Regions from separate parts of the Homo sapiens genome. Here all the other regions are linked to region 1. Evidence: promoter capture Hi-C in 16 types of primary human blood cells and fetal thymus (Javierre and others, 2016). All regions are on one chromosome and are shown on one strand. The core of a region is centred on a gene start or on the middle of the fragment in contact, and the rest is flanking DNA. Distances in the headings are between cores, read along the strand shown. Region 1 holds the start of IL6R (interleukin 6 receptor). Region 2 holds the start of SLC50A1 (solute carrier family 50 member 1). Region 3 overlaps EFNA4-EFNA3 (EFNA4-EFNA3 readthrough). Region 4 overlaps ZBTB7B (zinc finger and BTB domain containing 7B). Region 5 holds the start of ZBTB7B (zinc finger and BTB domain containing 7B). Region 6 overlaps CKS1B (CDC28 protein kinase regulatory subunit 1B). Region 7 overlaps PYGO2 (pygopus family PHD finger 2).

Region 1 (2,995 bases), core at 174-2,673:
CAGCTGTCCCAGGATCTTTGATCTGGGTTAGGATTGGCCTGAAACCAAAGGTAGAAAAACACATTCTAATGAGCAGTTGCTGGTCTAGAAGCTTCTCAGCCTAAACTTTATTTCAGCATTTTTCTTTCCCTCCAGATTCAGCTATGAGGCCATCCTATCAGCTTTAGGCTCTGTGGGGGTCCTTGAGAGAGTTCCCCTCCAAGGGACGGACAGATGGTCCCCTTCAAGGTCCTTGTGGTTGCTCAAAAGCCAGGTGCTTGTTTCTTTCTTTTTTTCTCTCCTTCCTTTCCTTCCTTCCCCTCTATCCCTCCTTCCCTCCCTCCCTCCCTCCTCCCTTCCTTTTCTTTCTTTCTTTTCTTTTTTTTTTTTTCTTTCCAGACAGGGTCTCACTGTCATCCAGGCTGGAGTAGCAGCCCCCAATCACGGCTCACTGTACCCTGGATCTCCCGGACTCAAGCAATTTTCCCACCTCAGCTTCCCTAGTAGCTGGGACTATAGGTGTGTACCACCACACCCAGCTAATTTTTAAATTTTTTTATAGAAATGGGGGTCTCACTTTGTTACACAGGCTGGTCTAGAATTCCTGGACTGAAGCAATCCACCCACCCGGCTCTCCCAAAGTGTTGGGGTTACAGGCGTGAGCCACTGCCCCTGGTGTTAGTGTCTGTCTGTCAAGTCAGGAGGGCAGCCATGAACGTTCTGATGTCTACTGAGCACGTGTGGCCCAGACCGTGTGTCAGGTGTTTAGGTGCCATCCACAGAACCTTCCTAATAACCCTGGGCAGCATAGGCTTTCTTATCTCTGACAGATGAGGAAATGGAGACTCAGATTCTGAACCGAAGTCACAGACACAGTAGATGGTAGGTCTAAATGGGGACCCAGGTCTATCTGACTGCAAAGTCCAAACCGTTTCCTTGCCTCTGCTGCAGCCTGCGAGGAGCAGCTGGGCAGAAAGACTGTGCCTTTACGGTGGTGAGTCTTCCGATGCCCAAGCCTCACCCCAGACCGATGAAATCAGAATCTCTGGAGACCCGACCCAGACATTGGTGGGTTTTAGGGCTCCTGGCTGATTCCAGTGGGCAACCGGGCTACCAAGCACTGTTTTACCCTAAGGGTAAGAGGAACATCGCCTCCTCGAGGGCTCTCCAGGTGTGCCTTTCACAGCGTAATCCCGTTCACGAAACCAAAAATCAAAACTAGGCCACTGCCCACTGGTGGCTGATACGCCCTTTTCTCATCAACAGAACCGGGAGGAAGGGCTCTGGTGGGGCTGGCGGTCCCCTGTTCTCCCCGCTCAGGTGCGGCGCTGTGGCAGGAAGCCACCCCCTCGGTCGGCCGGTGCGCGGGGCTGTTGCGCCATCCGCTCCGGCTTTCGTAACCGCACCCTGGGACGGCCCAGAGACGCTCCAGCGCGAGTTCCTCAAATGTTTTCCTGCGTTGCCAGGACCGTCCGCCGCTCTGAGTCATGTGCGAGTGGGAAGTCGCACTGACACTGAGCCGGGCCAGAGGGAGAGGAGCCGAGCGCGGCGCGGGGCCGAGGGACTCGCAGTGTGTGTAGAGAGCCGGGCTCCTGCGGATGGGGGCTGCCCCCGGGGCCTGAGCCCGCCTGCCCGCCCACCGCCCCGCCCCGCCCCTGCCACCCCTGCCGCCCGGTTCCCATTAGCCTGTCCGCCTCTGCGGGACCATGGAGTGGTAGCCGAGGAGGAAGCATGCTGGCCGTCGGCTGCGCGCTGCTGGCTGCCCTGCTGGCCGCGCCGGGAGCGGCGCTGGCCCCAAGGCGCTGCCCTGCGCAGGGTAAGGGCTTCGGGCGCACCTGGAGGGCTGGGGCAGCTAGCGGCTGGGGGAAACCGCCTTGGTCACCGCAGTCTGTGGGAGGCTGGAGGGAGGAAAGGAGGTGCGACGGATCCCCTTTTCTGTGGCTGCCTTGAGGCCCCGCGGGTACCTAGCTGTGTGGTCGCGGGTAGTGGCTCTTGCGCCCCCTGCTGCGCTTGCTCCCTTGGTCCGGAGCGCTCCCCGGAATGCCCGGTGAAGCTGTGCGGGAACCCTGCGGTCTGTGTACAGGACTGTGTCCTTGCAAACCTGACTCTCGAGCTTCCTTCCCAGTGCCCCCAGGAGCCTTTACACAACCGCGTCCCAGGTTACTCTAAGGGGAGACTGCCCGAGAGGGCGCGCCCCAGCGGGGTGATGTACCCGCCTGGGGAGTCCTTTGTACCAGCGCCCCTCTTCTCCCTCTGCATTGGGGGTCCACCTCGCCTGGTCCTCCCCCCACCCCCGCGGGTGCATGTGTGGATGACAGTGCCCTGACTATGAAGGGACTGACATCACGGGCGCTGAGTCACGGATCTTCCCGCTGCACGGAGTCACTTTGGCAGCCACCAACTCTGGGAAGCCAAGTGCCCCAGTCCTGGGAATTGAGTCGGGAGGCTGGCAAGGGAGTGAGACCTCCTGGGGCTGGCACGTGCTGGACTCCCCTCTAGAAAAGAGAAGGACCCGTGAGGGAGAGGGCAGAGGCACTTACTGCTCCCGTTGACTGTAATCTGCCCCTGGCAAACCAGGCTTTTCTTGGGCTCTGGCCGCATGCCCAGCTGCGTGTCTAGTCTCTCTTCTGGAAGAGTTGGGCAACTGGCTCTCCAGAGGTTTATTTTAGGGTCCCAGTGCTTCTTTGAGGACACAGCAGAAAACTAAGGGGCAGCTGACAGGCTTCTGGAACAGCTGACAGGCTGGGGAGGCTGAAGGCTAAGACTTTCAACCACTAGATCACACTGAATTCCAGTCCTAGGTGAACACTGATCTCTCCCTTTGAGGAGGTGACTTTCTGCAACTAGAGGCTGAGCTGGAGTGTCTGAGGCTCTCTTTGCTTTTTGGATGGTTGTGGTCCTTATGATTGGAAGAAAAAAAGAAGGGATTCCATTTTCAATACACATTTATAACTCCTGCCAGTAACAGACACTGTTGATTGGGGCACCCATTCAATGTTTTCTAATCCTCCACTGT
Region 2 (2,995 bases), core at 336-2,835, 730 kb after region 1:
GCTTTGGCATACTACCATTCAGGTACTCACGCTGTTTCGGTGAGTCAGGGAAGCTGGGAACGCCAGCTGAGGCATGCGGCCCCGCCCCACAGCCACACTAGCAGAGACGTGTGGGAGGCTGGGAGGGAAAGTTCCCAGTAACAAGTGGGTTGGACCGGGGGTCAGTGATAGAGGCGTCAGTGGATTGGCCACGTCATGTAAAGTTGACCCGAGAGGGAGGGCAAAAGAGGAAGGCTTGGTGATTCCTGGTAATGTGTTATTTTGAGAAAAAGCTTCGGCAGCACACTCCAGAAAAAAACTTCCCAAACCCTGGGCAACTGAGGTTCTGATGTGGAGCTCTGGATGGAAAGCGTGCTGAAGTCTTGTTAAACTAGCAAGCTTTTGTTTGGAGGTCCACCGCCGAAGGCGCACAGGCCTGTGGGAACACGAGCGTTGAGACTGGGGGCGTCTAGATGATCCAAGGGGTAGGCAGAGTGTGAGCAGCGGCAGGTATCGGGGACACACCCGCGGAGCCCTAGGAAGGGGACTGACCGGGACATGGAAGAGGTCTGGACCAGGGTACTGGGAAGGCGCTCGGAGGAGAGGGGCGCGAGTTCCGGTTCGGCGTCGGAGGGAGGGTGGGGCTTCGGCGCAGTTTCCGGAGGGACGGCCCGAGCGTGCGGGGGCGGAGCCGAGTGCGCGGGGCGGGGCTCCAGAGCCGCAGGTCTGGGCTGCAGTAGGTCCCGGCAACCGCAGGCTCGCGGCGGGCGCTGGGCGCGGGATCCGACTCTAGTCGTAATGGAGGCGGGCGGCTTTCTGGACTCGCTCATTTACGGAGCATGCGTGGTCTTCACCCTTGGCATGTTCTCCGCCGGCCTGTGAGAGTGCGGCCGGGCTGGGTTGGGGAGGACTAGGCAGTCAGGAAAGGAGAGAGAGGGGACAGAGACGTGGCCACAGCACCTGGCTCGTCCGGAACCGGGATCAAAGTGGGATCGGGTCGAGGGGACCGGGGTACAAGGGCGAGGCTGGTCACTAGGCCTGAAGGAGAAGGCAGGATAGCTGGCGGGGGGGAGAGGGGGCGGGGTCTGCGGTGGTCCGGAAAGGATGACAGGCATTGGGCATCCCCCTCTAGCACTCTGCTTCTCCCTTCCCACCCCCACCCCTCCCTTCGGGGCCCCATTACAGCTCGGACCTCAGGCACATGCGAATGACCCGGAGTGTGGACAACGTCCAGTTCCTGCCCTTTCTCACCACGGAAGTCAAGTGAGGGGCCGACGGCTGCGGTAGTGGGAAAGGCTACCAGAGGGAGGTGGGGGCGGGGCAGGAGGAGCAAGAGTGAAAGAGGTTTGGCCGGGCGCGGTGGCTCACGCCTGTAATCCCTGCACTTTGGGAGGCCGAGACGGGCGGATCACGAGGTCAGGAGATCCAGACCATCCTGGCTAACACGGTGAAACCCCGTCTCTACTAAAAATACAAAAAATTAGCCGGGCGTGGTGCCGGGCGCCTGTAGTCCCAGCTACTCGGGAGGCTGAGGCAGGAGAATGGCGTGAACCCAGGAGGCGGAGCTTGCAGTGAGCCGAGATCGTGCCACCGCACTCCAGCCTGGGCGACAGAGCGAGACTACGTCTCAAAAAAAAAAAAAGAGTGAAAGACCCTTTGGGTCCTCCTCTCACACTGAACCCTTTGAGCCATGTCCATCCCCTCCACCCTGCAGCAACCTGGGCTGGCTGAGTTATGGGGCTTTGAAGGGAGACGGGATCCTCATCGTCGTCAACACAGTGGGTGCTGCGCTTCAGACCCTGTATATCTTGGCATATCTGCATTACTGCCCTCGGAAGGTAGAGGCCCTCCCTTGGACCCACCTATCTGCTGCACGCCCTGCCTTGCTGGCAGGGCAAACACTATTTCCTAGAAGACTGTAACAGCTGGCACTGCCACCTTTTCCAGGAAGGCCTCTCCAGCCTTGCAGGTCCCCTTCCTCTATGAAGCCAGCCTTCTGAGATGAACACATTGCCCCCATTTAGGCAAGGCTGGTAGCTCTGCCTAGCCTGAGATGCCTATGCTGCCTGCCCTGGGCTTCAGCCAACAAGCTAAGGGGAAAGGGCTTTTGTCTCTGATATTTCTTTCAGAGCCAGGGCCTGTGGGTGAGAATGAGATGATTAGCTCTGCGTCCCTGCTAAATCACACAAGCATTTATGAAGCTCCTACTGTGTGTGCCAAGCACACAGAAAAAAACACATATTTATCTCCCCCAGAAGTCTCCAGTGTTGTGGGTGGATAAGACTTTCCTATCAAGTTGGTGGTGGGAAAGAAGCTGTGACAGTGCAGTGCTGGAGGCCTAGACAGCTTGGCTTCCCCATTGGAGCACTGGAGAAGGCAGGATGAATTAACTCTAGCAGGGAAGTCAGAGTGCACATCTGGAAGTAAGGGTACTCTCTCCCCTGCAGCGTGTTGTGCTCCTACAGACTGCAACCCTGCTAGGGGTCCTTCTCCTGGGTTATGGCTACTTTTGGCTCCTGGTACCCAACCCTGAGGCCCGGCTTCAGCAGTTGGGCCTCTTCTGCAGTGTCTTCACCATCAGCATGTACCTCTCACCACTGGCTGACTTGGTGAGTGGGGGTGTCCAAGGAGGTAGGAGAGATAAGAGTCAGGCTCTCATAGCCAAATACTATGGCTTACAGTCCCGAGGAAGGGGAGATCCAAACCCTGGAAGAAGACAAGGCAGTAGAAGTGGGCGAGTGGGAGGCAGGAAAGGTTGGGTGACAGATCAGGGAGGGTGTCTGACCTTTTTCTTGAGGAAATTCTTAGGCAAGTGAAGCTTTACGATGTGCTTGGGCCAAGAGAGTCTTCCATTCTTTCCCACAGGCTAAGGTGATTCAAACTAAATCAACCCAATGTCTCTCCTACCCACTCACCATTGCTACCCTTCTCACCTCTGCCTCCTGGTGCCTCTATGGGTTTCGACTCAGAGATCCCTATATCATGGTAAGCACAACTGGGATGGGGTGACAGGGGT
Region 3 (2,995 bases), core at 231-2,730, 660 kb after region 1:
CTGTGTGTGCCCGGCCCTGTGCTAGGTTGCAGGGGATTAACTATATAGATGAGAAGATCAAGACCCTGCCCTCTGGGATTCCACAGACTCTCTGGAGAACAGGCGCAGGCAGGAGAGCCTGCATAAAGACAGGTCATTACAATACCAATAACAAGTGATAAGAGCTTTTGTTGTCCTTGGACTCTGAATTCTCTATCTCTGTCACAGACCAAAGCTTCTGAATCACTTGGAGGACCTGTTAAAAATTCAGGTTTCTCACCCCCCAATCTTAAGGTTTCTGGCTCATTCATTCAATCCACAAATATTTATTGAACACTGTCCTGTGCTGGGCACTTTTCCAGGCACGGGGGATGCAGTAGAACAAAACTTACCAAGGCCCTGTCCTTGCTCAGCTTGCGTTCTAGTAAGTCTGGGCTGGCTGAGCCCAGGAATCTTCATTTCTAATCAGAACTGATACAGGTCGTCCTTGGACCACCCACTGGAGGCTTTTCCTAAGTCATGCTTCGCTGTGTTTGTGGTATGGGGGGTGGTTCATGCAGCATTCAGTACTGTGGGGAGCAGCCCCTTCCAGCCCTTCCCACCTGTGCTGGCTTCCCCAGGCAGCTCCCAAGAGGTGGGGAAGGGAGTCCTGAGAAGACTGAAGACTGGGTAGTATGTGGACTCCCCCCATGCCTGGCACTTGCTCCTCCTGGCCAAAAAAGGGAGGCACCTAGCACCCACTCCCTCATTCTTTTTTTTTTTTTTTTTTTAATTTTTAGAATTTAGAGACAGGGTCTTGCTCTGTCACCCAGGCTGTAGTGCGGTGGCATAATAGCTCACTACAGGAACTTGCGGACTCTAAGGATCCTCCCGCCTCAGCCTCCCAAGTAGCTGGGACTACAGGAGTGCACCACCACTCATGGCCTTTATTTATTTATTTATTTATTTATTTATTTATTTATTTATTTATTTTTTGAGATGGAGTCTCGCTCTGTCTCCCAGGCTGGAGTGCAGTGGCGCAATCTCGGCTCACTGCAAGCTCCGCCTCCCGGGTTCACGCCATTCTCCTGCCTCAACCTCCCAAGTAGCTGGGACTACAGGTGCCCGCCACCACGCCCGGCTAGTTTTCTTTTTATATTCTTAGTAGAGACGGGGTTTCACCGTGTTAGCCAGGATGGTCTTGATCTCCTGACCTCATGATCCGCCCGCCTCAGCCTCCCAAAGTGCTGGGATTACAAGCGTGAGCCACCGCGCCCAGCCTATTTATTTATTTATGGTAGAGACAGTCTCACCATGTTGCCCAGGCTGGTCTTGAACTCCTGGCCTCAAGCGATCCTCCCACCTCGGCCTCCCAAAGTGCTGGGATTCAGATGTGAGCCACCACACCTGGCCTCCCTCATTCTTTTTTTACCGTGACATTCTTTTCACCCTTGGGTTGAAGTCAGTCTAAAGGACAGTGTTCCTCACTTTATATCTGTTTGAGGAGACCTTTCCCAACCCCTGTTTCCACCTCTGTGTCTGCAGCTGCACTGTGTGCAACTGTACCTCCTGCCTCTCTGCCCAGCTTCTTCACAGCATCCATCCACCTGACATTGATCAAGCCTGGTGCTATACCACATTGAGTGTTGGGCACTGGAGCTAGAGAGGTGTGTGGCAGCTCCAGCCTGTAGGACAGGGTGTGGTGACCCTCCTTCTCACATCTAAGCTGTGTGGTTATGGGCACTGCAGGTCTTAGCCTCTCGGAACCTGTGAATCGATCATCTCATCCATTTCTTGCACTCTCTTTGTCTCTCAAGAGTTGTCAGTCTGGGAACCTCGGGCCTTCCTGAGCTGCTCCATCGCACATGGGTGGAGGAGAGGCTGGCAGGGGCCTCTGAGAAGGGGTGTCTCTGGCATCCATGGCCATGGCGTGGTGCCCTCCACTCCTCAGCCCACCCCTGCGTTATGCCTGCAGGTTGCTTCGAGGAGACGCCGTGGTGGAGCTGGGCCTCAACGATTACCTAGACATTGTCTGCCCCCACTACGAAGGCCCAGGGCCCCCTGAGGGCCCCGAGACGTTTGCTTTGTACATGGTGGACTGGCCAGGCTATGAGTCCTGCCAGGCAGAGGGCCCCCGGGCCTACAAGCGCTGGGTGTGCTCCCTGCCCTTTGGCCATGTTCAATTCTCAGAGAAGATTCAGCGCTTCACACCCTTCTCCCTCGGCTTTGAGTTCTTACCTGGAGAGACTTACTACTACATCTGTGAGTGGCCAAGGGCACACTGGACACCTCTTGTGTACCAGAAGGGTAGGGAGGGGGAAGGAGAGGCCTGGAAGGAGGAGGGGGCTGGGTCTCTAATGTACATCGGGTTGAGGTATGGGCTGAACTCAGGACTGAGGAGGGAAATGTCTAGAAAGGAGAAAGTAGGAGGAGCTAGGAAAGGGGGCCAGGGAGATGAGAGGACTGGATGGGGCCTGATACATGGGTGTGGCCCCAAAGTAAGGAAACGCTTTCCAGGGACCTGGAGAGAAGAAAACCTGGGAGGGTCTGAAACAGTCTGAGGCATACAAAGGGGTGACTCCCTGTGCTAACTTTTTCCCACTTTCCCACTACCCAGCGGTGCCCACTCCAGAGAGTTCTGGCCAGTGCTTGAGGCTCCAGGTGTCTGTCTGCTGCAAGGAGAGGAGTAAGTGGGTTGGGAGCATGGACCCTACTGGCTAATGTGGGGCCTTGGGAAGGAGGGAAGGAGTGAGAAGAATCTAGGAGGATCAGACTCCAGGGGTCCTGGTGAAGCTTCAAGCTGTGGTCTCTTCTCCCCATTTAGCCTTGAGGGAGCTTCTACTGCACCATCCTCTCCCCACTTCTGTTTTGTTTTGTTTTGGTTTTAGACGGAGTCTCGCTCTGTTGCCCAGGCTGGAGTGCAGTGGCTCGATCTCAGCTCACTGCAAGCTCCGCCTCTCTGGTTCACGCCATTCTCCTGCCTCAGCCTCCGGAGTAGCTGGGACTACAGGCACCCGCCACCACACCCGGCTAATTT
Region 4 (2,995 bases), core at 313-2,812, 610 kb after region 1:
GGCCCGGTGCTCTTCCTCCCTTCCATGCACCCCCATGCCCATTTGCACAGCTGCCCAGGTACCCCTAACAGTGGGGAGGGGTCACAGGGAGGGGGTAGCGGGACCAGTCCCTGTTATCTATTTAAAAAGTGATGATGTAATATATTGGGGTGGCGGGGAGATCGGGTTGTCCTGGGCCTCATCTTAGCATTTCAGGTGATGGGGGGAGCCCAGGGCTGGGGAGACCTGGGGCCCAGCCCCAGAAAGTGGGGACAATGTGGCCTCCCTTCTCCCTACTTTCGGCTTTCCCAGTCAGTGCCTTAGGGGGAGAGGCACTCCCCCCCTCCTATTCCCTTCCCCCCACCCCAACTCCCCCACCTCGGGTGTAAGCGACAGGAAGAAATAATAATAATTTAAGATTCACACTTGTGTCCACTTTTGGTTTATTTGGGGGGTGGGTGGGAAGGATCAGGAAGAGAGGGAGGTGAGAGAGGGACTGAGGGTTCTGAAGCTGGAGTGGGGGCTCCTTTAGTGGCGGAGGATGTCTCAGGTGGTCTGTGGGGCTCAGGGCTGGTGAGAATGCTGACAGGCTGATGGGCTTCAGGTAAGGGCTGCTGCCCGTGCTTCCTCTGCTGAGGCCCCTTCTCCTCATCCAGGTCACTAGTGAGGAGAGGAAGGGGGTGGCCGGATCACCCACCTTCTGTCTTCACAGGTGCATCCCTGCCCCCTGCCCTGCCCCATCTGTTCAGATCCAGCTCCTGTTCTTTCTGAGCAACTCCTGCTCTCTCAGGCCCACGAGGCGTACCAGCCCATGGCTGTAGATATTTTCTGATTTTAGGCTGATGCTGGGGGGTGGGCAGTGACTTGCCTGAGGCCACATGGCTAGGAAGGGCAGAATCACTAGTGACCTCAGTAGTCACACCTGCTCAAGGCTCAAGCTGTCCCCTCTGCTGACCCAGCTTATCCTTTCACTGGGCCCTCTAGAACCTCTGAAAAGAAAGCTTTGCTTCCCCTTCAACCTCTTGACTCATCATGACCTCTACCGCCCCATTCACACTGGAATGTGCCCACTGGACAGTTTTCTTTGCAGTCCTCCCAAGAGGAGGCAGCTTAACCTTCTCAAACCCAGCTGGCCCGTAGTGTTTTTTTGCAAAGCCCCTGGCTGCCATGATAGCTGTACCACCAGTGCTGTGGCTGTCTCCTCAGGCCTGCCAGACACCTGCCACATCTGTTTAAGATGCCGGCTCTGGACTCCTGCTGTTTGTATGGTCCTGCAACCTCGTCGCTAGAGGACCCACCCAATTCTCTGGCCTCTCAATCCCTAACCTCCTTGGTTCTATTGACCGTCATCTCTGTTCCCACTCAGACGTCTTCCTCAGCCTTGGCCTTTCACTGGATTCATTCCAGAGTTCTTCCCTGGCCATGGCCCCCTCTCTGAGTCCCTCCTGTTCAGCCAGCTCTCCCTCCTGGCCACTGCCCCTGCTCTAACACGTCATCAAGACAGAGACCCTGGGCTGCCCCCAGGGGCCTTAGCCCCTCCTCTTCCCCAGTCATCTCAGACACTCTTACCAAAGACACCTCAATTCTCACTCCATCTTGTCCTCCTGACCTGCCCAGAAAAAGCCCTCCACCTGTGAATCCTATTCATGGCTACCACATTTGCCAGAGAAAATCACATAACTGAGCGCACTGGAGCAATCATTACAAGTTACAGCTTCCAGCATCATCTGGGCCTTTGACGCTACCTGGAAATCCCTTAACCTCCCTAGTCGGCTTCTTTGCACACTTGCCACGGCAGGTCTTTCAACCTCTACCACCCACTCCTTGAAACCTTTATTCCACTCCCAGCTGCCTGCTCTGCTCTCTCAGCAGGTGCTCTTGCCTCCTACTCCCCAAAGAGAAGCGAGGCCACCAGGCTGGAGTGGGCTCAGCTGCTCAGGGGAACCTATACTCTCCCCCTCTGCCTCTGCCAGCCTGCTCCTTTCTCAGGCAGGCCACCTGGTCCACCTGGCCCTGGAGCCCAAACCTCCCTCCCCAACGTGCTTTTACACTGCCTAAATGCTCAAATCTTCCTGTTCTTAGATCTAGAAAACCCTTTTAGTGCTGAATCCCCTTCAAGCTACTTTCTTGCTCTGTGAAGCTAACTCTCTCTTTCTCTTCACCATCAAGCTTACATTTTTTTCAAACTACAGCACTCATTAGATTAAAAGCATTATCAAACTCCTGGCAACAGTGATGCAGGAGCCACATACCATATTTCTGAGTCCTTTTATTATTTATTTATTTTGAGACAGAGTCTTGCTCTGTCGCCCAGGCTGGAGTGCAGTGGCACGATCTCGGCTCACTGCAACTTCCGCCTCCCGCGTTCAAGTGATTCTTCTGCCTCAGCCTCCCAAGTAGCTGGGATTACAGGCGCCTGCCACCATGCCTAATTTTTTGTATTTTTAGTAGAGACAAGGTTTTACCATGTTGGCCAGGCTGGTTTCAAACTCCTGACCTCAAGTGATCTGCCCGCCTCAGCCTCCCAAAGTGCTAGGATTACAGGCGTGAGCCACCACACCCAGCCTTTCTGAGTCTTCTTTACCTGACACCCCTCAACCCATCATGACAGATCCAGTTTTGGTCTTCCCGATGCCATGAAAAATATTCCCACAAGCTACTCCAGTGATGTCTTAACTGCCTGTCACCTGTCTTCACATGATCCTACTTGATTTTTTTTTTTTTAATCTTCTAATTTTTTGAGACTGGGTCTTGTACTATTGCCCAGGCTGGAGTGCAGTGGTGCAATCTTGGCTCACCGCAGTCTCAGCCTCCCTGGCTCAAGTGATCCCTCCCACCTTAGCCTCCTGAAAGCTGGGACTAAAGATGCACGCCACCATGCCCAGCTAATTTTTGTATTATTACCTATTTATTTATTGAGACCAATCCTCCCTCTGTCACCCAGGCTAAAATGCGGTGGCACAATCTTAGCTCCCTGCAACCTCCACCTCCCAGGTTCAATCAATTCTCCTGCCTT
Region 5 (2,995 bases), core at 287-2,786, 600 kb after region 1:
AGAAGCCACCTGCTGGAAAGGGAGGGAGGCCCCCTGCGGAGGGGGGTTGGGAGGGGAAAGCGAGTCCGACCCGGTTCGGCCTGGCTTGTCGCAGGGGAGCCAAACCTGGCCCTAGGTAGCCGGATTTGATTCCATTTGACACTAGTGGGAGGGGCCCTTTGGGGTACGCAGCTCCGCAGGCTCAGTCAGAAACATCCTTCACCCGCTACCTTTCTCAGTTGGGGGACTCCTAAGTATTTATCCCGGTCCTCCCCAAAACCTACACATACCACACATCCCAAAACATCCAGGCACCCCTCGCCACCTGGGTCTCTCAGCGAATTCATGTCAAGCTATCCCTCCTCGGTGGAGACTCAGTTTCTCCACTTAGGGAACCCGCGGGATGGAGGTGGGGAGCAAAAGCGTCGGCGCGCCCCCTCCCCCTTCGCAGACTGGGCCCCTCCCCTCCGACAATGCCAAGGCCGCAGCGGGCACTGGCGACAGCACAGAGGCTGCTTGCCTGGGGCGCCCTTCCCTCCCCGCGGGGCACCGTCACGCGTGGGGAGGGACGCAGGGCGCCCGCAGGCTCAACTCCCCGGCTCCCTCCGAGAGGGGGTGGGGCGTAGGGGCCGGAGCCGAAGGCCTGGTGGCTCCCCCTCCCCCTCCCTTCTAGGTCCCTGACCTGATTACAGCCCCTCACGGGACCCCCTCCCTCAAGACCCTAAGTCCCCAATTCACCCCCACCCAGCCTATCCCTAACCTCTCATACCCTTCCCTCCTGAGGTCCTGACCCTACAGAAGCCCCTCTTGAAGGAGAGGGAGCCCCTGTAGGGGGTGCTCGATTCCCTGGCCGCTGCGGACACTGCCCCCTCCCCCCTCCTCTCCAGGTTCCAGGCCAGCCCCTCGGCTCCGCCCCCTCCCTGGACGAACGCAAGGCGAGACCTACTGGAGATGAGCGGGTATTCAGGCCAATGAGCGGACAGGGCGGTGGCGTGCAGGGGGCGGGCAGAGCAGCAGCAAAGGGCTGGATGGGGGCCGGGGGCGGAGTTTGAGTTAAGGTGGACTGGGAGAGATAGGGGCAGGAGAAAGGGGGGGGAGAGAGGGACCGCGGCAGGTGAAGGGAGACAGAGAGAAGGAAAGAAGGAGGGAAAGGAGGAGGGTGGGAAAGGCTAGGAGAGCTAAGTAAGAGTTTGGAGAAGGGGGCAAAAAAGGAGGGAGGGACCCATCTGCGCTCTGCAGGGACTGGCTGGACGAAGGGGTTGAAGTTTATGTCCTTATTGGGCGGAGGGAGGGGGCCTGGGGGGGCGGGTGAAAAACCAGGAAGTGACAGAGGGTGTTTCTAAGTGTTGGGGGGGGGGAGTTTGGGGGGTGGCAGGGGCGGGGGGAGGGAGGGGAGGGATGGGGGGAAAGCAAGCTGGAGGACAGGTGAGACAGCAGGACAGGTGAGGCGGGCCCTGAGGGGGGGGCGGGTGGGAGCCAGGTGAATGTACGGCTCTTGGCGGCCGAGGGGGGGCGGGCGGCAGGAGGAGGCAGAGGGCGGCGGAGGAGGAGCCCCCCAGCAGCGAGCGGCGAGCAACTGACCGCGGCCTTCTGACCAGGACCGGAGCAGGGCCCCAAGCCCCCGGGCCTGGTGGGGGACGCGCTTCTTCCCACACTGTGAGCCTCAGCAGCTCCAGCCAGCGGACCCGACGGCTGAGAGGTGAGTGTACCCCACTTTTGTCTCCTGGCTCGGGGTTCACTAGGCTCGAGACTACTGCAGTGTCCTTCGTCCGTCCTGTAAGTGGGACCCCCAGATACACACGCATGCAGATCACATTCCCACCACTCCCCTTCCCTGTGCTTTCCCAACACCCCGGGTCTCTGGAATTGGTTTTAACTGAGATGAAAGACAGAGAAGGAACTGCGGATGCCCCCCAACCCTAGGCGGAGGGTCCCCAGAAAGTTTATCTGCACTTCTCCTGGGATCAGACAGACAGACGGCTTCGGGATGGAGAGGGGGTGAGGCGACGCTGAGCGTTCCCCCAGTCTCCTTCGTGACTTTAGGGGGAGACCCCAGACCGGACTGAGTTGAGGGAATGGAAACGCTGACGGACTCTAACTAGGACAACGCGCACCCCCCCCCCACCCCGCGCCCCCTGGCGCGGTGGATTGGCCCCAGGCCAGTTGCATGGGGGTTGGGGGGGCGCAGGAGGAGCCGCGGCTTGGGGGAAAGTTACCGGCTGGACTATTCGGTTTCTTGCGCTTCCAGAGCCGCGCTCTCTCCAGCGGTAGTGGGGCTCAGCAACAACCTCTGAACCGACATAGAACGACCGCTCTCTTCCCTGCCCCTCAATCCCACTCCCTTCCTTCAGGCTCCAGTCCCGCCGCTACCTTTTCCACGCCAGCTCATGACCACAGAACCCAAGAGCGAGGGCGGGTGACTAGGAAGAATTCTCCTACCTACTACCCGTCCCCCCACCGGCGCCGGCGCACCTGCCCCAGCCCAGAGTGGGGGTCGCTACTGTGTTGTTGTAGAACCTACAGAGTGCGCCTGGCAGAAGGCTGCCATTCAAAGGGGTGGGGGGCGCTGCTTTCAATTTCCAGCTTTCTCTCCCTCCTCCCACCCCATCCCAAGTAAGAGAGCGACGTGTCCCGGCCAGAGCGAGGTGGGGGCGGGAGTGGGGGGGCGGCGTGGGCAGCGGGTTGTGCCCGGACACGTGCCTGCCCAGGCGCCCCGGCCCTGCTGGTGTTTAGAGAGAGGGCGGGTCCCCTGCCCCCCGCCCCGCACAACCCCCACGTATCAAAGGGCGGCTGAGACATGGTGAGACCTCGGGGCGCCCTGGGGGGCAGGGGGGCGGGGAGCCTGGGTCCGGAGCAGGGGAGGGGCAGAGGCGCCGGTGCTAGCTGACCCACAGGAAACGAGCGCTGCTGACCTAGTTTGGGACACCGGAAGTGGGTGCTGGGGAGAGGGGGAGACCGGCAGGCTGTCCAGGCTTCCGGGCCAGGTGGAGGGTGTTCTTGAATTGACCCCCGCCCG
Region 6 (2,995 bases), core at 284-2,783, 570 kb after region 1:
GGAGGGTGGGAGGAGGTAGAGGTTCAGGAAAAAAAAAAACTGTCGGGTACTATGCTTAGTACCTGGGTGATGAAATAACCTGTACACCGAACCCCCGAGTCAGGATTTTACCTATATAACAAACCTGCACATGTACCCTTGAACATGAAACTTAAAATACTGAGAGGAAAAACGGAAGAGGGAATGTTGGGGAAAGCTTCCTAGAGGGCAGAGCCTGAGATGAGACTCTAAGAAAAAGGTATGTGGGAGGAAGCACCTCTTGACTGAAATTGTTTAGAAGACACTGGATAGCCATCTGCCAAGGATGGTGATGATGGAATCCTGGCACTGGATGTGGCATTCGGGCTTGATAAATTTTAAGTGCATAATCTAGATTGGGAATAAGGGAAGACACAGGATTCCACAAATGTTGGCATTATGCTAATCTGTATTAATTGTAATAATTAAGACCACTTCCTGGTTTGTATCTTGTCTCCTCAGTTGGAGAACATAAAATGAAAACTTGCTTTTCTTGTGTCTCTTCACCCAGCCTAGTTCAGGGCTTTGGGTCTTCCAGAGAACTCGATGTGCATTGACAAATACATAATCATCTTTATGCCAAGACGGCTCCAGACCCTCCTTTAATTAACTTTCTTTTCCTCAGCTGTTTTCCTCTACATCTGAACTAAACTAACTTAAAACTGTATGTGCTTATAAGAGATTTGTGGAGCTGGGAAGGAATCACCATTTCATCCCCTGGAAGATGAAACTCTTGGCAGTGGCACTTTGGTTTAAGAGGGGTTTTTTGGTGTATGTATTGAAGCCAAATTTCGTGCCAGGGTGGTGTTAGAATGTGAGCTATTTTCATTATATTTGGACTAGAATTTTTTCTTTTAGGAGAATGGTGGGGAATCACTGTTACTAGCACAGAGGGAGAACTTAGTACATTTTCATTGAGCATGACGAAGACTATGTGGATTAGTTTGATTCACATCAGGGTAATAATTTTTTTGCTATGAAGGGAGACTTATCCTTGGTTAGAAAAGCACGGAATTTACCCAGAAAGTCTCAAGGTACATCCCTCCAGAGTTAGGAAAATAAGATTCAGGATAGATTTAATTTTTTTTTTAAGAGACAAGGTCTTGCTTTGTTGCCCAGACTGGAGTGCAGTGGCTATTCACAGGCACAACCATTGTGCATTGCAGCCCTTTCTTTTTTCTTATTTTTTTTCTCTTTTTTTGAGACGGAATCTCACTCTATCGCCCAGATCTCAGCTCACTGCAACCTCCGCCTCCTGGATTCAAGGGATTCTCTCCTGCCTCAACCTCCCAAATAGCTGGGATTACAGGTGCATGCCACCACACCCGGCTAATTTTTGTATTTTTAGTAGAGACGGGGTTTCACGTTGTTGGTCAGGCTGGTCTCCAACTCCTGACCTCAAGTGATCCACCCACCTCAGCCTCCCAAAGTGCTGGGATTACAGGCATGAGCCACCGCCCCTGGCCTATTTCTTCTGTATTTTAATCAGATTTCAAACTTCATACTGTATCTTTTTCAAACTCCTGGGTTCAAATGACCCTCCTGCCTCAGCCTCCCAAGTAGCTGGGACTGTAGGTTTGTGCCACCATGCCTGGCTTAGATTTTAAAGGACAAGATAGTTCATTTCATCCTTTGTAATAACTTGTCCACACAGTACTTCATAAAAGGCCTTTCCTCGCCACAAAATAACTTCTCTTCCTTCCTTCTAATTATTAACACTGTGTGCTCCGTGGGGCTCCCATTATGTTGTAGATAATCAACTAGAAGACTATAAGGTCCATGAAGGCGGAGAAAATGTGCCTTGAACTTAAGTGCTCATTCACTGGAATTATTCACTAATTTGTATTTTTAATATACTCTCGGAATTTATATAACATAGCCTGTATTTCTAGCTGCTGCTACCCCACAATAAAATTATATAAACTCTGACATCAAAAACCAGTTTTTCTTTCCTTTCTTGGCCTTGTAAACAGGCATTTGTCTAAGAGACTGTATCTGGTACTAACATAAATTCCCCACTTCCCCGTTTCTGTTACAGACATGTCATGCTGCCCAAGGACATAGCCAAGCTGGTCCCTAAAACCCATCTGATGTCTGAATCTGAATGGAGGAATCTTGGCGTTCAGCAGAGTCAGGGATGGGTCCATTATATGATCCATGAACCAGGTCAGTGCACTGGCTAAAAACAACCATATAGAACTGCTACACTGAGAGAATGAAAGAATAAGATTGTATAACCCAAATAGGGAGATAGGAAATGGTTTACTGGTTCCTTCCCCCTCCAGTCGTGGGGGATTTTTTTAAAAAAAAACTAGTGACCAAAAATAAGACTAAAATATCTGGGAAGTTCAGAGACAACCTGTCACTGAAAAACCTCCTGTAATCTTTCATTCAATCAGAGGGTATTCTTTTTAAGGCCACATATAGCCTGATCATAGCCCCTGCCTCATTCTCCATCGAAAACATTCTTGGATGTGTTCTAAATAAGCAAAGGAAAGTATATTTATTGATAAGACACCAGACACCCAGCTGCCAGGCAAAACTAATAAGGGACACCCTGGGGCTGTATAAACATAGCAAAAGAACTGATATTAACAATTCTGTACTTGGCAGACAGTCCAGACTTCTGGGTCTGCTTCTAAGGCCATATGCTTAAGTCTTTATTTAGTTATAAAGATCTGAGTGGGTGATAGCTGGGGAGGTGGTAGTGGAATACACTATAGGTTGTACATAGAATGGTGTGAGCTTGTCTCTTAGATTTCCCTCACTCTTTCAGAACCTCACATCTTGCTGTTCCGGCGCCCACTACCCAAGAAACCAAAGAAATGAAGCTGGCAAGCTACTTTTCAGCCTCAAGCTTTACACAGCTGTCCTTACTTCCTAACATCTTTCTGATAACATTATTATGTTGCCTTCTTGTTTCTCACTTTGATATTTAAAAGATGTTCAATACACTGTTTGAATGTGCTGGTAACTG
Region 7 (2,995 bases), core at 230-2,729, 550 kb after region 1:
TCAGCTCAGGGGCCAAATCTGCCATTCCCACTCCCAGGGACCCTGGGGAGCATACATATCCTCAACCCCTAAGCACCCTACCCAGCAGTGACAGCGGCTCATTCCAGCCTTTTCACACAGCAACAGCAAGGAGTCCTTGTCTGGGATTTTAAAATCATTTTATTAATCCAACAGTACAAAAGACCCCCACCACCACCGCATTCTGCCATCACTTTGTTCCAAAAAGTAGTGGAGTGAGAGAGCGAGAGGGAGCAGATCCAGCAAAAACACTCCCCCAGGGGCCATTTTACAAAATGCGGAGCAGGGGAAGACAACACAAAAACAGCAACAGATAAATGGGGCAAACAGAACAACAAACACAAGAGTTGAGCAGCGGGGTGGGGGTGGGGGGTTGCCATCTACGCCGTTTTAGTGTGAGGGACACTGGGAACGATGCCCAGAGGCTGCTCTCCTCCCAGCCTCAAAGGTTGTCAGCTCCACCAGAGCAGGGTCTTCTCTCCTCATGCCAGGAACTGAGAGAAGTGGGGGTAGGGGACCACTAGGTCTTTGCCACTGTATCTTGAGCTGGGGGACTCCTAACTTCTCCGAGGGCCACACCCCATGCCTGCCTTCCCCACCCCATGGAGGAATGTGTGCATGAACAGAAAAGGAGAACGAGCAGCGCTAAGGTCCTCATCAGGCCCCAGGCCCATCTCTGGCAGGCAGTGCTTAAAAAATAAAAAAAGACAAATAAAGCCCAGTGCAGGCCTTTGGCTGAGAGGAATGAGAATTGCTAATTAATCACCAGGCCCAAGAGGATATGAAAGAATAGCAAAGAGAAGCAACAAACTCCAGGCTCTTCTACCTTTGAGTACCATGGCAATGAGGATCCCGCCGCATCCCCTACCCACAGGCTGTGACAGGGCCTCACTTGGATCCTTTTATCATGGAGGAAATGAGGTATAGGGCTCTGCGCCTTTTCAAGCTTTCCTTCAATCAAGCCAGGAAGGCAGGGGAATAAGGGCGCCGAAAGTTGAAGAACACACGGAGTATAATGTGCAACAGATGGGCTGGGGGAGGAGGGTACCACCAAAGTCCAGACTTTCAGGACAGCCCAAACTTCAAATATTCTGGTCTGTCAGATAACATATCCCAATTTTTGGCAAAAATATGGTCATTAGGAGAAAAGCACGAGAGAGGCTGAGAAAGGACCAGTGACTTTGGTATGAAGAAGATACGTCCTGACAGCATCTCTCACCTACTGTCTTGAAGCCCCAAATCACCAAGAAACTGCCATAACCAGGAACTCTCCTGCTTCCTCAGGCTATTTGGTTCTCTGAGGGGGAAGGAGTTGGGTAAGTCTTGGAGGAAGCAAAGGAGTGGGTAGAAAAAGGGGAAAATCCCCATTTATTCCCTAAAGCTGTCTCCCAGAGCCCATAAAAGGGCTATTGCAGGGATGGCAAGACCCCAATTCCTCTGGCCAGAAACCTTTAACACTTGACTCCAAAAACTAAGGCTGGAGCTGTGGGGTTCAGTAGGGGTGTTAGGCACAGGTGTTAGGGGCATCCATCATCAGCAGAGGGAACACCCCTGCCCTCCGGATCTTCCTCCAGCCCCTTTTCTCTTGCAGCCACACTCCTGGGCCTCCAGAAATAGCCACAAAATGGCTCTGCTCAGCAGGGCTTTGGTTTCCTGGATCTCTGTAGATCTCAACATGTAAGTTTCCCAAAACAGTGAGCAATCCAGGCTCTTCTGCCTGCCCACCTCAATTCCTTTTCTGCTCCCAGGAGCCACTGTTTCTGCCCCATGGGGATGGAAAGCCAGTGGAAACAAGGACCAAGAGCCAAACATCAAAAAAATCACCCTGGAAGAGCAGGGAGAGACATGTGCACTTCCCTGGGCCACTTCACCAGCGTCACCCATCGTTAGCAGCCACCAGCTGCCCCATGCCCTCACGGATGTAGACAGACTGGATCTCCTTGGTCTTGAGGCAGAGATCGCAGGCCCAGACGGCAGAAGCTTCAGTGGTCAGCAGCCCATAGGCGCTCTCAGTCATGCCTGTGCACTCACGGTGGAACCATTTCTGGCAGGAGGCCTCACACAGAATGGCATCCTGGTCATCGTTCACCTCACTCCGACAGGCACCACATGGGTACACCAAGCCTGGGGGAGGCTGGGGCCCGGAGCCCCCACCTGCCTTGCCAGGGGGTGCCAAGCTGTTGGCATCTGGAGTGCCCCCACCCCGCCCACTGCTGTTCGGGGGGAAACTGGGCTGGTTCCCATTAACAGCAGCAGCCGGGGAGCCTGAGTGGGGCTCCTGGGGAAAAGCAGTAGAAGCAGGTGGATTCAAGGGCTTCCCCCCATCCTCACCACCAGGGCCAGGAAAGCCAGGGTCCGGACCAGGAAAGGGACTTGTGTTAGGCGGCAGGCTGGGGAGCCCCTGACCAGGTCTCTGGAGAGGAGAAGGGCCAAAAGGAGCCCCTGGCTGAGCAAATCGTTGGGACAGAGAAGGTGGGCCCAGCTCTGCTCTGGGAGGCTGTCCCATGGTGGGTGAGATCATGGGACCAAATCCCCCCACTGGGCCCGGCATCATCTGCCCACTGGGAGGACTAAAGTTTTGACCCAGAGGCTGGTTGAAGGGTTGGCTGGGAAAGTTCATGTTGCCTGGGGGTGGGTAGCCAGGACCCTGGGGGGGCATGTTGAAAGCAGGGCCCATAGGATTGGGAGGGAAGGGGGGTGGCTGTCGACGGAGTGGCTGGGGGCCCCCTCCACCTCCAGTGCTGTAGCCTGGGGGTACCTGGCCCGCCATGCCCCCCTGCACACGGAAGCCTCCGAAGGGCACAGGACTGCCAAGGAATGGAGGGGCTGCAACCCCCACTTTGGGGGCTCCGAAGTCATCTTCAAAAGGGTTGGATGCAACCAGGTGATCCACCATGGGAGTTGGGGGTGGTGCAAACTCCGTCAGATGTGAGTATGCAGGGCCCTAGTGAGAAACAGTTGAGGGAAAGAGGGTCAT

The links. The method cuts DNA at HindIII sites, captures the fragments that hold promoters and counts their contacts. A CHiCAGO score of 5 or more calls a contact.
Region 2: a contact is called between a fragment that was not itself captured here and the fragment with the promoter of IL6R in region 1, in 1 of 17 cell types (activated CD4 T cells). The highest score is 5.9, in activated CD4 T cells.
Region 3: a fragment that was not itself captured here is called in contact with the fragment with the promoter of IL6R in region 1 in 3 of 17 cell types (activated CD4 T cells, non-activated CD4 T cells and naive CD4 T cells); the score reaches 6.5 in activated CD4 T cells.
Region 4: a contact is called between a fragment that was not itself captured here and the fragment with the promoter of IL6R in region 1, in 2 of 17 cell types (activated CD4 T cells and naive CD4 T cells). The highest score is 5.7, in activated CD4 T cells.
Region 5: a contact is called between the fragment with the promoter of ZBTB7B here and the fragment with the promoter of IL6R in region 1, in 2 of 17 cell types (non-activated CD4 T cells and naive CD4 T cells). The highest score is 8.2, in non-activated CD4 T cells.
Region 6: a contact is called between a fragment that was not itself captured here and the fragment with the promoter of IL6R in region 1, in 1 of 17 cell types (activated CD4 T cells). The highest score is 5.8, in activated CD4 T cells.
Region 7: a fragment that was not itself captured here is called in contact with the fragment with the promoter of IL6R in region 1 in 1 of 17 cell types (non-activated CD4 T cells); the score reaches 7.1 in non-activated CD4 T cells.

What each region holds. Positions count from the first base shown.
Region 1 is chr1:154,403,920-154,406,914 of GRCh38, forward strand. It overlaps IL6R (interleukin 6 receptor), which reads left to right and starts at 1,424. Exons shown (of 10, transcript NM_000565.4): 1 at 1,424-1,795. The coding sequence starts at 1,711. It overlaps IL6R-AS1 (IL6R antisense RNA 1), which reads right to left and starts at 2,645. Exons shown (of 2, transcript NR_147855.1): 1 at 2,520-2,645; 2 at 1-38. RefSeq lists silencers at 1,229-1,358, 1,559-1,708 and an enhancer at 1,948-2,554. The HindIII fragment of the contact is 4,036 bases long and covers 90-2,995 here.
Region 2 is chr1:155,135,135-155,138,129 of GRCh38, forward strand. SLC50A1 (solute carrier family 50 member 1) reads left to right here and starts at 718. Exons shown (of 6, transcript NM_018845.4): 1 at 718-857; 2 at 1,165-1,242; 3 at 1,694-1,817; 4 at 2,427-2,588; 5 at 2,845-2,964. The coding sequence starts at 778. RefSeq lists an enhancer at 159-248 and a silencer at 519-758. The HindIII fragment of the contact is 2,419 bases long and covers 377-2,795 here.
Region 3 is chr1:155,064,797-155,067,791 of GRCh38, forward strand. All of the region lies in intron 1 of EFNA4-EFNA3 (EFNA4-EFNA3 readthrough), which reads left to right. It overlaps EFNA4 (ephrin A4), which reads left to right. Exons shown (of 4, transcript NM_005227.3): 2 at 1,934-2,220; 3 at 2,576-2,644. It overlaps ADAM15-EFNA4 (ADAM15-EFNA4 readthrough), which reads left to right. Exons shown (of 26, transcript NR_176418.1): 24 at 1,934-2,220; 25 at 2,576-2,644. Among named protein-coding and RNA genes, the nearest start is that of DCST1-AS1, 2.3 kb to the left of the region's middle. RefSeq lists an enhancer at 1-396. The HindIII fragment of the contact is 2,537 bases long and covers 213-2,749 here.
Region 4 is chr1:155,018,122-155,021,116 of GRCh38, forward strand. It overlaps ZBTB7B (zinc finger and BTB domain containing 7B), which reads left to right. Exons shown (of 3, transcript NM_001256455.2): 3 at 1-402. It overlaps DCST2 (DC-STAMP domain containing 2), which reads right to left. Exons shown (of 15, transcript NM_144622.3): 15 at 406-639. The coding sequence ends at 423. Among named protein-coding and RNA genes, the nearest start is that of DCST2, 14 kb to the right of the region's middle. The HindIII fragment of the contact is 1,168 bases long and covers 979-2,146 here.
Region 5 is chr1:155,001,266-155,004,260 of GRCh38, forward strand. It overlaps ZBTB7B (zinc finger and BTB domain containing 7B), which reads left to right and starts at 1,537. Exons shown (of 3, transcript NM_001256455.2): 1 at 1,537-1,678. RefSeq lists silencers at 1-35, 436-675, 786-975, 2,686-2,805. The HindIII fragment of the contact is 14,435 bases long and covers 1-2,995 here.
Region 6 is chr1:154,975,931-154,978,925 of GRCh38, forward strand. It overlaps CKS1B (CDC28 protein kinase regulatory subunit 1B), which reads left to right. Exons shown (of 3, transcript NM_001826.3): 2 at 2,057-2,184; 3 at 2,795-2,995. The coding sequence ends at 2,847. Among named protein-coding and RNA genes, the nearest start is that of MIR4258, 1.7 kb to the left of the region's middle. The HindIII fragment of the contact is 2,679 bases long and covers 195-2,873 here.
Region 7 is chr1:154,956,885-154,959,879 of GRCh38, forward strand. It overlaps PYGO2 (pygopus family PHD finger 2), which reads right to left. Exons shown (of 3, transcript NM_138300.4): 3 at 142-2,962. The coding sequence ends at 1,895. Among named protein-coding and RNA genes, the nearest start is that of PBXIP1, 2.3 kb to the left of the region's middle. RefSeq lists an enhancer at 2,401-2,900. The HindIII fragment of the contact is 1,034 bases long and covers 963-1,996 here.